Regions from separate parts of the Homo sapiens genome. Here regions 2 and 3 are each linked to region 1. Evidence: promoter capture Hi-C in 16 types of primary human blood cells and fetal thymus (Javierre and others, 2016). All regions are on one chromosome and are shown on one strand. The core of a region is centred on a gene start or on the middle of the fragment in contact, and the rest is flanking DNA. Distances in the headings are between cores, read along the strand shown.

What was found. The method cuts DNA at HindIII sites, captures the fragments that hold promoters and counts their contacts. A CHiCAGO score of 5 or more calls a contact.
Region 2: a contact is called between a fragment that was not itself captured here and the fragment with the promoter of CLEC6A in region 1, in 1 of 17 cell types (erythroblasts). The highest score is 5.6, in erythroblasts.
Region 3: a fragment that was not itself captured here is called in contact with the fragment with the promoter of CLEC6A in region 1 in 1 of 17 cell types (neutrophils); the score reaches 7.1 in neutrophils.

Annotation. Positions count from the first base shown.
Region 1 is chr12:8,453,722-8,457,754 of GRCh38, reverse strand. It overlaps CLEC6A (C-type lectin domain containing 6A), which reads right to left and starts at 1,793. Exons shown (of 6, transcript NM_001007033.2): 1 at 1,613-1,793. The coding sequence starts at 1,643. The HindIII fragment of the contact is 4,980 bases long and covers 1,212-4,033 here.
Region 2 is chr12:8,114,225-8,118,298 of GRCh38, reverse strand. It overlaps a transcript of CLEC4A not described here. Among named protein-coding and RNA genes, the nearest start is that of CLEC4A, 7.4 kb to the left of the region's middle. The HindIII fragment of the contact is 1,807 bases long and covers 1,335-3,141 here.
Region 3 is chr12:8,865,058-8,869,059 of GRCh38, reverse strand. A2ML1 (alpha-2-macroglobulin like 1) reads right to left here. Exons shown (of 36, transcript NM_144670.6): 30 at 1,003-1,218; 31 at 703-830; 32 at 433-523. Among named protein-coding and RNA genes, the nearest start is that of A2ML1-AS1, 36 kb to the right of the region's middle. The HindIII fragment of the contact is 6,008 bases long and covers 1-4,002 here.

The sequences.
Region 1 (4,033 bases), core at 544-3,043:
CTCAGAATAAATAACCAGGTAGTAGCTCTGTGGTCCAAAAGAATACAGGTAAAACATACACTCAACCAACTGGAATTTCCATGTCTTTATTCTTTCTTCTAAACTATTACATGTTTCCATTGATTTCGTTTCTCAAAACATCACTTTTGTCTCCCATTTCTCATATCTCTGTATTGATATTTGGTTTCTTCAGTATATCCAAGAGATATCTGCACTCCCATGTTTATTGTAGCACTATTCACAGTAGCCAAGATATGAAAGCAACCTAAGTGTCCATCAACAGATGAATGGATAAAGAAAATGTAGTATAATATATACAATGGCATATTATTCCACCATAAAAAAGAATAAAATCCTGCCATTTGCAACAGCACAGATGGAACCAGAGGACATCGTGTTAAGTGAAATGAGCCAGGCACAGAAAGACAAACATTGCATATTCTGACTCATATGTGGGAGTTAAAAAAATTGATCTCATGGAGGTAGTGAATAGAATGGTGGTTACCAGAGGCCAGGAAGGTTAACTGGGAAGAGAAGATAGAGAAGGGTTGTTTCGTACCTACAAAAATACAATTAGCTAGAAGAAATAAAATCTAGTGTCCCTTAGCACAGCAGGATAACTGTAGTTAACTTTTTTTTTTTTTTGACATGGAGTCTCACTCTGTCACCCAGGCTGAAGCACAATGAGGCAATCTTGGCACCCTGCAACCTCCACCTCCTGGGTTCAAGTGATTCTCCTGCCTCAGCCTCCTGAGTGGCTAGGATTACAGGTGCATGCCACCATGCCCAGCTAAGTTTTGTCTTTTTATTAGAGACGGGATTTCACCATGTTGGCCAGGCTGGTCTCTAACTCCTGACCTCAAGTGATCCACCCACCTCAGCCTCCCAAAGTGCTGAGATTACAGGTGTGAGCCACTGAGCCTAACCCAACAATAATTTATTGCATATGTCAAAATAGCTAGAAGAGTAGATTTGGAATGTTCCAAACACAAAGACATGATAAATATTTGAGGTGATGGATAATGTAATTTTCCAGACTTTACCATTACGCATCATATTCTTGTGTCAAAATATGACATGGAGCCCATAAACATGCACAACTATTTTGTATCCATAAAAAATTTTAATAAAAATTTTTTTAAAACATTATTGATGGACATGCAAAGGGTTGAAGCTAAAGTCAAATTTTCATGCATTAAAAATGGGAAGCTTTTCTCTTACAAAAAAATTAGAAAAGCAAGTACAAAAAAACTTAGGGTAATTGGAAAGAGTACTGCTTCCTGGATTTCAAAATTAGTCAAAAGACTTTGAAGAGCAGACATCCAATAATCAGTTATTTCCCTGTTTACCTTCTATCATGTAAATCTTTTCTGTCTCCCTAAACTATCAATAAAATCTGGTACAAACCTCCCAAAAAATATTTGCTTTCTTATTCTTTCAAGTGCTTATGGCTCTGGCTCTGAAGAATTACTCTTTCTTTCAAATTCCTTTGAGTCTACTATATTGGTCCAATCACTAGCTCTTCAATCTGTTCTTTGGCTACTTCTTCTCTCCAGGTGATCTCATTTCACCATACACTTCCACTTTCCTCTGAAACTGAGGAAATACTCACCTGTACTTTGAGGTTGCTGCTCTTGCATCATTATGCAGGCTCCCTGTGTTGAGAAGGTCCAGGAACCTTTTGTACCTCTCTCCCTAAAGATGTTGCCCAGAGACTCAGCTTCATTTAAAGAAGCTAGAGCTCAGGGACAAACTGCTACACACTCTTATAGGACTAAGAGACTTCCAACATTAAGTGTACCTCAAAAGAAGAAGTCACAATTACAACTAAAGTTTCCAGTGATTTCGATACGTGGGGTTAAAAAAAACAAAAGAGGAATTGAGAAACATTGAAAACCATTCATGAGAACTTTGACAAGAATACTTAGATCATTTCTTCAGTTTCTAACATAAAATTTCTCTGTCTGATTCCTATTCATTCTGGCATGCAAAATAGAAAATTTTTTATCTCCTAAAAGACATCTATTTAGAGAACTTGGTTAAATTAAGTGCTCCCTAACTAACCTTTACATTGGCTGCTTATTTTATGCAAGCCTTAATCCATGTGTTGAACAGTGTCCTAGGTAGTAAGCAAAAGTTTGATTGGATGGATATGGTTTAGATATGAAGGGTAACATAGTAAATAACAAAACCCATGAACATTGTTAAGGAATGTGACTGCAAAATGAAACATTCTGAAATCAGTCTGCAAAGGTGATGAAACATTCTTACTGCATCCAGACTAATATTGGGCAGATGTCAGTGATATTTTGTAATCTCCCTGATTAGGCAAAAGGGAGCCTGAAGTGATATAAAATCAGAAACAGGCTTCATGAATTTTATATTGTAGCACAGAAAATATATGATGTTTTCTTGTCCTCATAGATTCTTAGTAGAGACACTGTCCTGAAAACAAAAGGCAGAGAAACAAGAGAAAAAGCAGCAGTTTATCAATGTGTGTTATACCCATCACTCAGGAGAGAACTCAGTTCAAATGTATTTATCTCTTTCATGGCAGTGGCTTACAGGCCTTGCTTAAATAGTATGTTAACAAACAGCCATAAATCTATGGAGTGCTGAGAACGAAAAAAAAAAAAAACTGTTATTTGAGGAATGTGAGTGCCTTGAAACTATCAAGTCCAGAGTGGACTCATGAGAGAGATATGACAGGAGTCATGCCTCACTGCCACCTTGCACGAAATTTACCTCTTGAAGCCATTTGCTATGTAGGTTCTAGACTAACTGAACCCTAAAATTTAACAGTATACAGCTAATTACTAATCAATGTGGTTTCTGTAAACCAATGATAATTTACTGATGAGTAACTTTTTAATTCACTCCCTCTCCTGATTCATTCTTTTTTTAATTTTTATTTTTCCATAAGTTATTGAGGTACAGGTGGTATTTGGTTACATGAGTAAGGTTTTTAGTGGTGATTTGTGAGATTTTTGTGCACCCATCACCCAAGCAGCATACCCTGCACCATATTTGTAATATTTTATCCCTCATCCCCCTCCCACTCTTCCCCCCAAGTCCCCAAAGTCCATTGTACCATTCTTATACATTTTGTGTCATCGTAGCTTAGCTCCCCATATCATTGAGAACATATGATGTTTGGTTTTCCATTCCTGAGTTACTTCACTTAGGATAATAGTCTCCAATCTCATCCAGGTCAGTGCAAGTGCTATTAATACATTGCTTCTTATGACTGAGTAGTGGTCCATTGTATATCTATACCACAGTTTCTTTATCCACTCATTGATTGATGAGCATTTGGGATGGTTCCATGATTTTTCAGATTCATTCTTTTTTCTTTAAAATCTTCAGTCTTTCCTTTGCTCTCTAGACCACTTCCCAAGGCAACCTACAAGTGTTTTCCTGGGTAGCTGTCCTCATCCTTTGCCCAAATAAACTCTCTATATTAATGTGGCTTCAGCTACTTCCTTTAGGATGATAGTGAAAAGACAAAGAAGAGAGTATCTTCACGATTCCAAAAGGAAATGAAATACAGGAAGGTATTTTAACAGGAAGAGTAAAATCTGCTTCTAAATCCTTTTACAAGTATCGTAAAGGAGCTAATCCTTAGCTGGGAAAAGTAGAAAGGAAGACAGGAAGACCTTTGTCTTTGTAAATTGTTGTTCTGCCAACAGGCAAGAAGAAGGAGGGGAAGAATGTTCTCCTACATTGCCACCTTTTTCAGCTCAACAATTTGCAGTTATCTTAGAGAAGGTTATTTTGGTTTCCTCCAATCATTACCTAAGGGCTTTGAAATACTTAATCATTCACATGCAGTCTCTAAAATGTAGATCATTCTATTAACATCACAAACAGCTCCACATTCTCAAGTGAGCAATCTTGTATACAAGAAAATCTACTAGAATATTGAACTTGTGATATTATAAGAAACATGTATATTTCATTTTTGTTTATCACAGAGCTTCTGAAACCCTAAAACTTCCTGGTTGATAGAAATGATTTGGTTACAATGTTTGGG
Region 2 (4,074 bases), core at 989-3,488, 340 kb after region 1:
ATGTTGAATCTCAACCTGACAATGTAAATTATTAGCTTATCTTCACAGGTAGAAGACAAGAACAAGACCAGAAATCATCCCTCTGTCTACTCCCAGATGAATGCATAAATGACTTTTCTTTTACCCCCACTTTTCACATGTAAAATGTAGATTCATTGAGTGCTAACCAGAGCCTCACAAGAAAGTAACCACTTGCCTCCTTGTCTACTCTCCCTTGCCTTTTTTTTTCCCCTTTCCTCCTTCCCCTCCTGCTTGCTCTTTTCCCTTAAAATACTGAGGTCCTCAAAACCTTCTTTGGAAAAAGCACCAATCACAGATGCTCCTGTGATTTGTGTTTTGTTCCTGGGCATGCCCTCAACCTTGGCAAAATAAACCTGTAAATCAATTGAGACCTGCCTCAGTCACTTTTTGGTTTACGCAAGTAATGGTTGTCATTCTTTTTGGCATCTAATTCTCCTTATGTTTGAAGAATATTCCCACTTTATGAAACAGAGCTCTTCATATTCTACAACAGCTGCAAATCCAGGCATTTGCTTTCAGAAATTGTACCATAAATACTTGAAAGCTATAGAAGTGAAATAGAGGAAACTTGAGATTTATTATCCAATCTGGTTGAAGCTGAGAAAAGAGAAAGCACGACTAGTATTAACAGATGGGACTTGGTAGTCCTTGCCATGCAATGACAAAATAGGCAAATTGAAACACATTGTCACCTAAAAAAAAAGTTCCCATTGGAGACAAGCCTTTAAGAGCCCAAGCAGGCTGGGTGCGGTGGCTCACACCTGTAATCCCAGCACCTTGGGAGGCCAAGGCAGGTGGATCACCTGAGGTCAGGAATTTGAGACCAGCATGGCTAACTTGGTGAAATCCCATCTCTACTAAAAATACAAAAATTAGCCAGGTGTGGTGATGAGCACCTGTAATCCCAGTTACTCAAGAGGCTGAAGCAGGAGAATCACTTGAACCCAGGAGGCAGAGGTTGCAGTGAGCCGAGATCGTGCCACTGCACTCCAGCCTGCGCAACAGAGAGATTCCACTTCAAAAAAAACAAAAACAAAAAAAAAAAGAAGAGCCCAAGCAACCCCAAGGGAAAGAATTTAAGAAGTGTAGAGTAGAATAGTTGCTTCTTATGGCACTGGATAACCCAAAGGAAGAGAGTAACAAACTCAATATATCCTAAATTCTTGACCCAAGGAAAAAACTGAAAACTAGAATTTCTATAACTATATTAAAAGAATTCTTTATTGCTTGTAGCTGCAGGCTGAAGAGACCAAAAGCCAAAGTTTTAGTTGGACTCGATGGTTAAAAATTGCAAATCCAGTTGAATTCAAGCTTTGCTATGTCTCCTAAGTGAAAACGAGAGGCTTGATTGTGATAAAATGTGATCTCAAGAACTGATAAAGAAATATATGGAGGATACCCATATATTGCCCAAAGCATCACAAACACTCCAAGTCCAAGAAGTTTCCTATCCCCACAAAAGCAGCAGGTATAGTGAGAGCCTGAAGTCACCCTCCGGTTATTTCCCAAATTCCTGTTGTCCAGAATCCCCACACTGTCTCCCTGACCTGTGAAGTAAGGTCCATTATGATGGAAAACCAAATTGAAGCTCCTGAACTTCCCCTTCCTAGCAAAATAAAATCAAAAGCAGTAAAGCATCTATAATGAAATCACAAAGATTAGTACCACTAGCAAAGGATTCAAAACTGAAGCATAAGCAATTCCTATTATATTCTTGATTTAAATCACTCATCTTGCCAATACAGATGGGTCATAAACAATGGGAGTAGATGATCATACATTTAATCAGGAGGTGACTCCAATTTTAGCTGCTTTCCAAATGCGAGGTCTAGAGCAAGTCAATACAGTACTCGGCCCTTAATGTATACCTATTAACGGCCAGGTACGATGACTCACGCCTGAAATCCTCACACTTTGGGAAGCCAAGGCAGAAGGATCGCTTGAGTCCAGATCTTTGAGACCAGCCTGGGCAACATAGTGAAACCCCACTTCTACAAAAATAAAAAATAAAAATTAGACCGGGTGCGGTGGCTCACACCTGTAATCCTAGCACTCTGGGAGGCCGAGACAGGTGGGTCATTTGAGGTCAGGAGTTCAAGACCAGCCTGTCCAACATGGTGAAATCCTGTCTCTACTAAAAATACAAAAATTAGCCAGGCAGTAGTGGTGCACACCTGTAATCCCAGCTACTTGGGAGGCTGAGGCAGAAGAATCGCTTGAGCCTGGGAGGCAGAGGTTGTGGTAAGCCGAGATCACACCTGCACTCCGGTCTGGGTGACAGAGTGAGACCCTGTCTCAAAAAATATATATATAGATTAAAAATTAGCCAGGCATGGTAGCACACACCTATAGTCCCAGCTTCTTAGGAGGCTGAGGTGGGAGGATCACTTGAGCCCAGGAGGTTGAGGCTGCAGTGAGTTGTGATCGTGTCACTGCACTCCAGCCTGGACAACAGGGCAAGACTCTGTCTAGAAAAAATTAAATATATATATATGACATATATGTATATTATCTGGTGGATATTATTTCTTCCAGTTAATAAATAAGCAAAAAAATCATCATCAAATTGCTTTTCTCCTGGCAGAAACAATATACCTTCATCATCTTCAGACCTATATAACTCTTCAGATCTATATAACTCTTTCAATCTGGCCTACCATTTACCCTGCAGAAAACTTAAACATCTCACCGTTTTACAAGATATCCTGCTGGTTCACTCCATTGATGATATCCTACAGATGCTACAAGGAAAGCAGGACAATACAGTACCCTAGATGCCTTGGTAAGCCTCATGCCATTGAAGTCCTGGTCTATCAGGCAGTGGTTCTCAGTGTGGTCCTAAACCAACAACATCACCTGGGAACTTGTTAGAAATGCATATTCTTAGGCTCCACCTTAGATGTACTAAATCCATAATTTTGAGAATGGGGCCCAAAAATTGGTGTTTTAACCAGCCCTTCAGTTGATTCTGATTGATGTCTGGGGCACTTAAATATCCCCTCCAAAATATCAAATAATGTGCCATTTTGAAAGGCAGGATTCATAGGCCTCTTTGGATTTTTAAGGCAATATATTTCACATTTGGGTGTTCAAACATATTTGCCAGAAAATCGAAAAGCTTCCAGGATTTGGTGACATACTGAAAAGGCTGTTCAGGTGGTCCAGGCCACAGGTAGACAGACAGTCTGCACTTAGCCCTAATAAACTAGCGGTGCTTGAACCCTCTTTGGCAAATCCATGCAGATTGGAGCCTAAAGCAAACCAACCTGGAGATTGGTAGGAGAATTCAAAGGAGGCCAGTAGGATAGTTCAGAGGAAATCATTCCCTCTCAGCGAGTAATTGGTCTATTCTTGAGAAATGCTATTGGGTCCTCAGTGAATCAGAATATAGCAACATGGGACAACAGGTAAAGATGCAACTTGAGGTAACCTTCATGAGCTGAGAGTCATCTAACTGGAGTAGAAAATCATTAGATGCAGTAATGGCTAAGGGTTTGGATTTAAATACACAAAAAAATGAGGAAACAAAGCCTTGGACAAGCACTAAGCAGGGAGCTGGAATTGAGACTTCCATATAATTCATAATTTTTGCAAAACTGTAAATTAAGCAAAAGGTAAACTAGAAAGAGTTCAGCAGTAATACCTCTCCCTGGGCTTTGGGTGAAAAAAGAAAAATTCGTAGGAAAGTACAAGGTGAGTCTACAATATTTTGTTCCATCAGAAATAAAGGAATTGGCCGGGCGCGGTGGCTCACGCCTGTAATCCCAGCACTTTGGGAGGCTGAGGCGGGTGGATCACGAGGTCAGGAGATTGAGACCATCCTGGCTAACACGGTGAAACCCCGTCTCTACTAAAACTACAAAAAATTAGCCGGGCGTGGTGGCGGGCGCCTGTGGTCCCAGCTACTCGGGAGGCTGAGGCAGGAGAATGGCGTGAACCCGGGAGGCAGAGCTTGCAGTGAGCCGAGATCACGCCACTGCACTCCAGCCTGGGCGACAGAGCAAGACTCCATCTCAGAAAAAAAAAAGAAATAAAGGAATTGCTCAAACATTA
Region 3 (4,002 bases), core at 1,311-3,810, 410 kb before region 1:
TGATCAAGGAAACAATATATACTGTGGAAAAGGTAGGAAAAGGGAACCAAGACTATTACAAGTTGCATGTCATATATCTGCTACAACCTTGCAGCCCATTTAAATAATCCAATCATGAGTTTGTGTGTATGAATATATACATATATGCACACATATATGTACATACATGCACATATATACATGTATATATACCTACATATGTATACACACACATATATATAATCACATACTGTGTATATGGATGCCATATATATATATGAAAACTACTTTTCTTACAAGTGTACATACATATACATACATATATATGTATGTATATACATGCCTTGTGTGTGTGTGTGTATACACGCCATGATGCCCATTTTACCAGTTTTTTAAATTATAACGTTAGGTCCCCTCACAGCTAGATAAATGAAGAAAACAGAAGTAACTTACTAACTGATTGGTGCCCTCCATGGGACTGAACCCAGATAGCATCTTCACTTCCACAATAGCCATATTGGAAGAGCTACGGCTCCCCACATAACTGAGAGCAGGAAGAAGAAAACACATGTGAGCCTATTACTTCAGTGCACTCTGCATCCCCAACACACACACACACACACGTACACACACACATACACAGACACACACACACACAAGTGTCCCAGCTCAGCTCCTATGACCAGGTGCTCTGCCGGCCACCAGCACCCCAGCTTTAATCACCTGGTGTGAATAGTGAGAGTCAAGGATCGAGGTGAAGTCGGTTGCTCACATCTAGCTTTTCCTATTTCCACACTAAGACTAAAGGTCTTCATATTTGTGGGAGGGAGAATATTGTATCTCAACACCGTCTGGTAGGAAGAAATAGGTAGCCAAATCAGACTTGGAAAGAACTTTAAAGATTGTACAGTTCAAACTACTTTTCTTACAAGTGAGAAAGAAAGAGAGAGAGAAGGCCTAAGGGGAAGATGCTCTCCGACTCTCCTTCCCAATGTCCGCTCATTCTCATGGATCTCTACTTACCTGCACATAGACACAGCCCTGGCCTGAGGCCTCCAACGTGTACATTCCAGGGACATTGGGCAGGGTATCCTGCTGAAATACCAATCTGTTAACTGACTGTATGTTGAATGTGCGCTGGAAATTCTCAGTGGATTTTACAACCAGGTTGATCTCCTCAGATGGCATGTAGGCGGTAGTGGCATATTTGGCAAGAGCTTGGAGAGCAACTACAGTATCCTGAGGGAAACAACCAAACGTATACTTACCATTTTGTGAGCCATTGGAATTAACCTTGAACAACTCTATAACCCACACATCTGGTTGTTGTTAGTTGGCTTGGATGATGACTTCTTTAAGTATTTAGAGAACTATACCCACCTCCTCTGGAGAAGCTGGCCTAGAAATCACAGTAGCTTGCTTTTTTTTTTTTTCAGATGGAGTTTTGCTTTTGTTGCCCAGGCTGGAGTGCAATGGCACGATCTCAGCTCATTGCAACCTCCGCTTCCTGGGTTCAAGTGATTCTCCTCCCTAAGCCTCCCAAGTAGCTGGGATTACAGGCGTGTGCCACCACATCCGGCTAATTTTGTATTTTTAGTAGAGAAGGGGTTTCTCCATGTTGGTCAGGCTAGTCTTGAACTCCCAACCTCAGGTGGTCCGGCTGCCTTGGCCTCCCAAAATGCTGGGATGACAGGCATGAGCCACCATACCCAGCCAGTAGCATGCTTTTATAGAAAATCACCATCAACAAGGTACTACTGAACATCCACAGATTACTTGGTTAACCTAATCAATTCATGTTCAGAAACCAACAGTTTCAGAATGAGTTATTGCTAGAAGCAAGTGGATAATTGTTCAGTATATATTTTACAGCTTCCTTATTTGGGGGAGAAACAGTAGTAACTTGATAGCCCTAGAAATTGCAGTCTATGAAGTCATTTAACTGTGTAATGATCTTCTACATGACAGTTGGAAGGAGTATAAGGGACCCTAGGAAAGTCCTTCCCTGCAGGCTGGCTTCTTAGCCATTATACCATGTGACAATCTTTTATTTCTCTGGGAATAAGACAGATAAACTGTCACTAAGTGAGCATGGTACAGTGATATTTGAACTGTTTCATTCTGAAAACATAATTCATATAAATTACAAGGGGAAAGAAAAATGAATGAAGTGTTCAACAAAATTGTTATATCTCACTCGTGTAAAATATCTATTACAAAAAATATCTATTACAAAAAAAAACCCGATTTCTTCATCTCACAAATGAAAAATACATTCTTATTTCGACATTATCACTGTCCTACAAAACAGGAAGACAGGTCACCCACCCTGGTGAAGCTGTGAAGAAGTTCTATCTGTGCAGCTTCACCATCTACAAACAATTTTTGTTTACCTTTTGTGGACTGGAGCCAGGGAGGTTTTTTACTGCTTGAACATATGGAGACAATTCAAAGAAAGGGACCTCACTGTCAGCTGAAAAACCAGTGTGGGTAATATATGATATATGACTTCTTGTGATAGCCAAGGATTTCATTGAAAAAGGATTCTGACATATACCTGTCACTGAGAGTTGTAAACATTTCACCCACTGCTTTCCAAAAATATTATTATATATTATAATTATTCAGGACCGAGCAAGAAGGAGTATTTTGTGATCTTTGGCCAAGAATTTCCCTGAAACAGGGAGGCATAGTACCATATAATTTTTTTAAGTTTCAATTAAGTCATTACCATATTTAAACTTGGTGCTTTTTTTTTTTTTTTTTTTTTTTTTTTGAGATGGAGTCTTGCTCTGTCTCCCAGGCTGGAGTGCAGTGGCGCGATCTTGGCTCACTGCAAGCTCTGCCTCCTGGGTTCACGCCATTCTCCTGCCTCAGCCTCCCGAGTAGCTGGGACTACAGGCGCCCACCACTGTGCCCGGCTAATTTTTTGTATTTTTAGTAGAGATGGGGTTTCACCGTGGTCTCGATCTCCTGACCTCGTGATCCACCTGCCTCGGCCTCCCAAAGTGCTGGGATTACAGGCGTGAGCCACCACACCTGGCCTAAACTTGGTGCTTTTAACATTTTTACCAAACATGCAACCTATTAAAAGATGTTCATTCTTTCAGGTCTGATTTACATGTTATATCTTCAGTGAAATTGGCTAATTTCAACAAATCAGAATATAATCTTCATGAGAACAAGAAATATATTTTCTTAGTTATTTCTGTAGCCTCATCAAAGTGATTTGGACATGGTAGATATTTAATATTTTCAGAATACATAGATTAATGACTACTCTCTTCATTATAATCTAAAATAATTTTTTATGATTTGAGTTTATCATACAATTCTACCCCTCTGTTTTTTCCATACTGCCACACCACTCATTCAATTTCCCAATTTCCCCTTACCCCTAACCTAGATAAAGGAAACAGTCTCCTGATCTCTTCAAGTCCAATGTTTCTCCTCTCTAAATTATCTCACACACCAAGTGGCTGATTAATCTTTCTGAAACAAAGTTAAAATTGTTGTTGTTGTTGTTGTGTTGTTGTTGTTGAGACGGAGTTTTAACTCTTGTTGCCCAGGCTGGAGTGCAATGGCGCCATCTCGGCTCACCGCAACCTCTGCCTCCCGGGTTCAAGCGATTCTCCTGCCTCAGCCTCCCAGGTAGCTGGGATTACAGGCACCCGCCACCACGCCTGGCTAATTTTGTATTTTTAGTAGAGATGGGGTTTCTCCATGTTGGTCAGGCTGGTCTCGAACTCCCGACCTCAGGTGATCCGCCTGCCTCGGCCTCCCAAAGCACTGGGATTACAGGCATGAGCTGCTGTGTCCAGCCTAAAAAATTTTTGTTTGTTGTTGTTTTTGTTTGTTTTTGTTTATTGTTGTTGTTGACACAGAGTGCTGCTTTGTCACTCAGGCTGGAGTGCAGTGGCACGATCTCAGCTCACTGCAACCTCTGCCTTCCGGGTTCAAGCAATTCTTCTGCCTCAGCCTCCCGAGTAGCTGGGACTACAGGAACATGTCACCACATCCAGC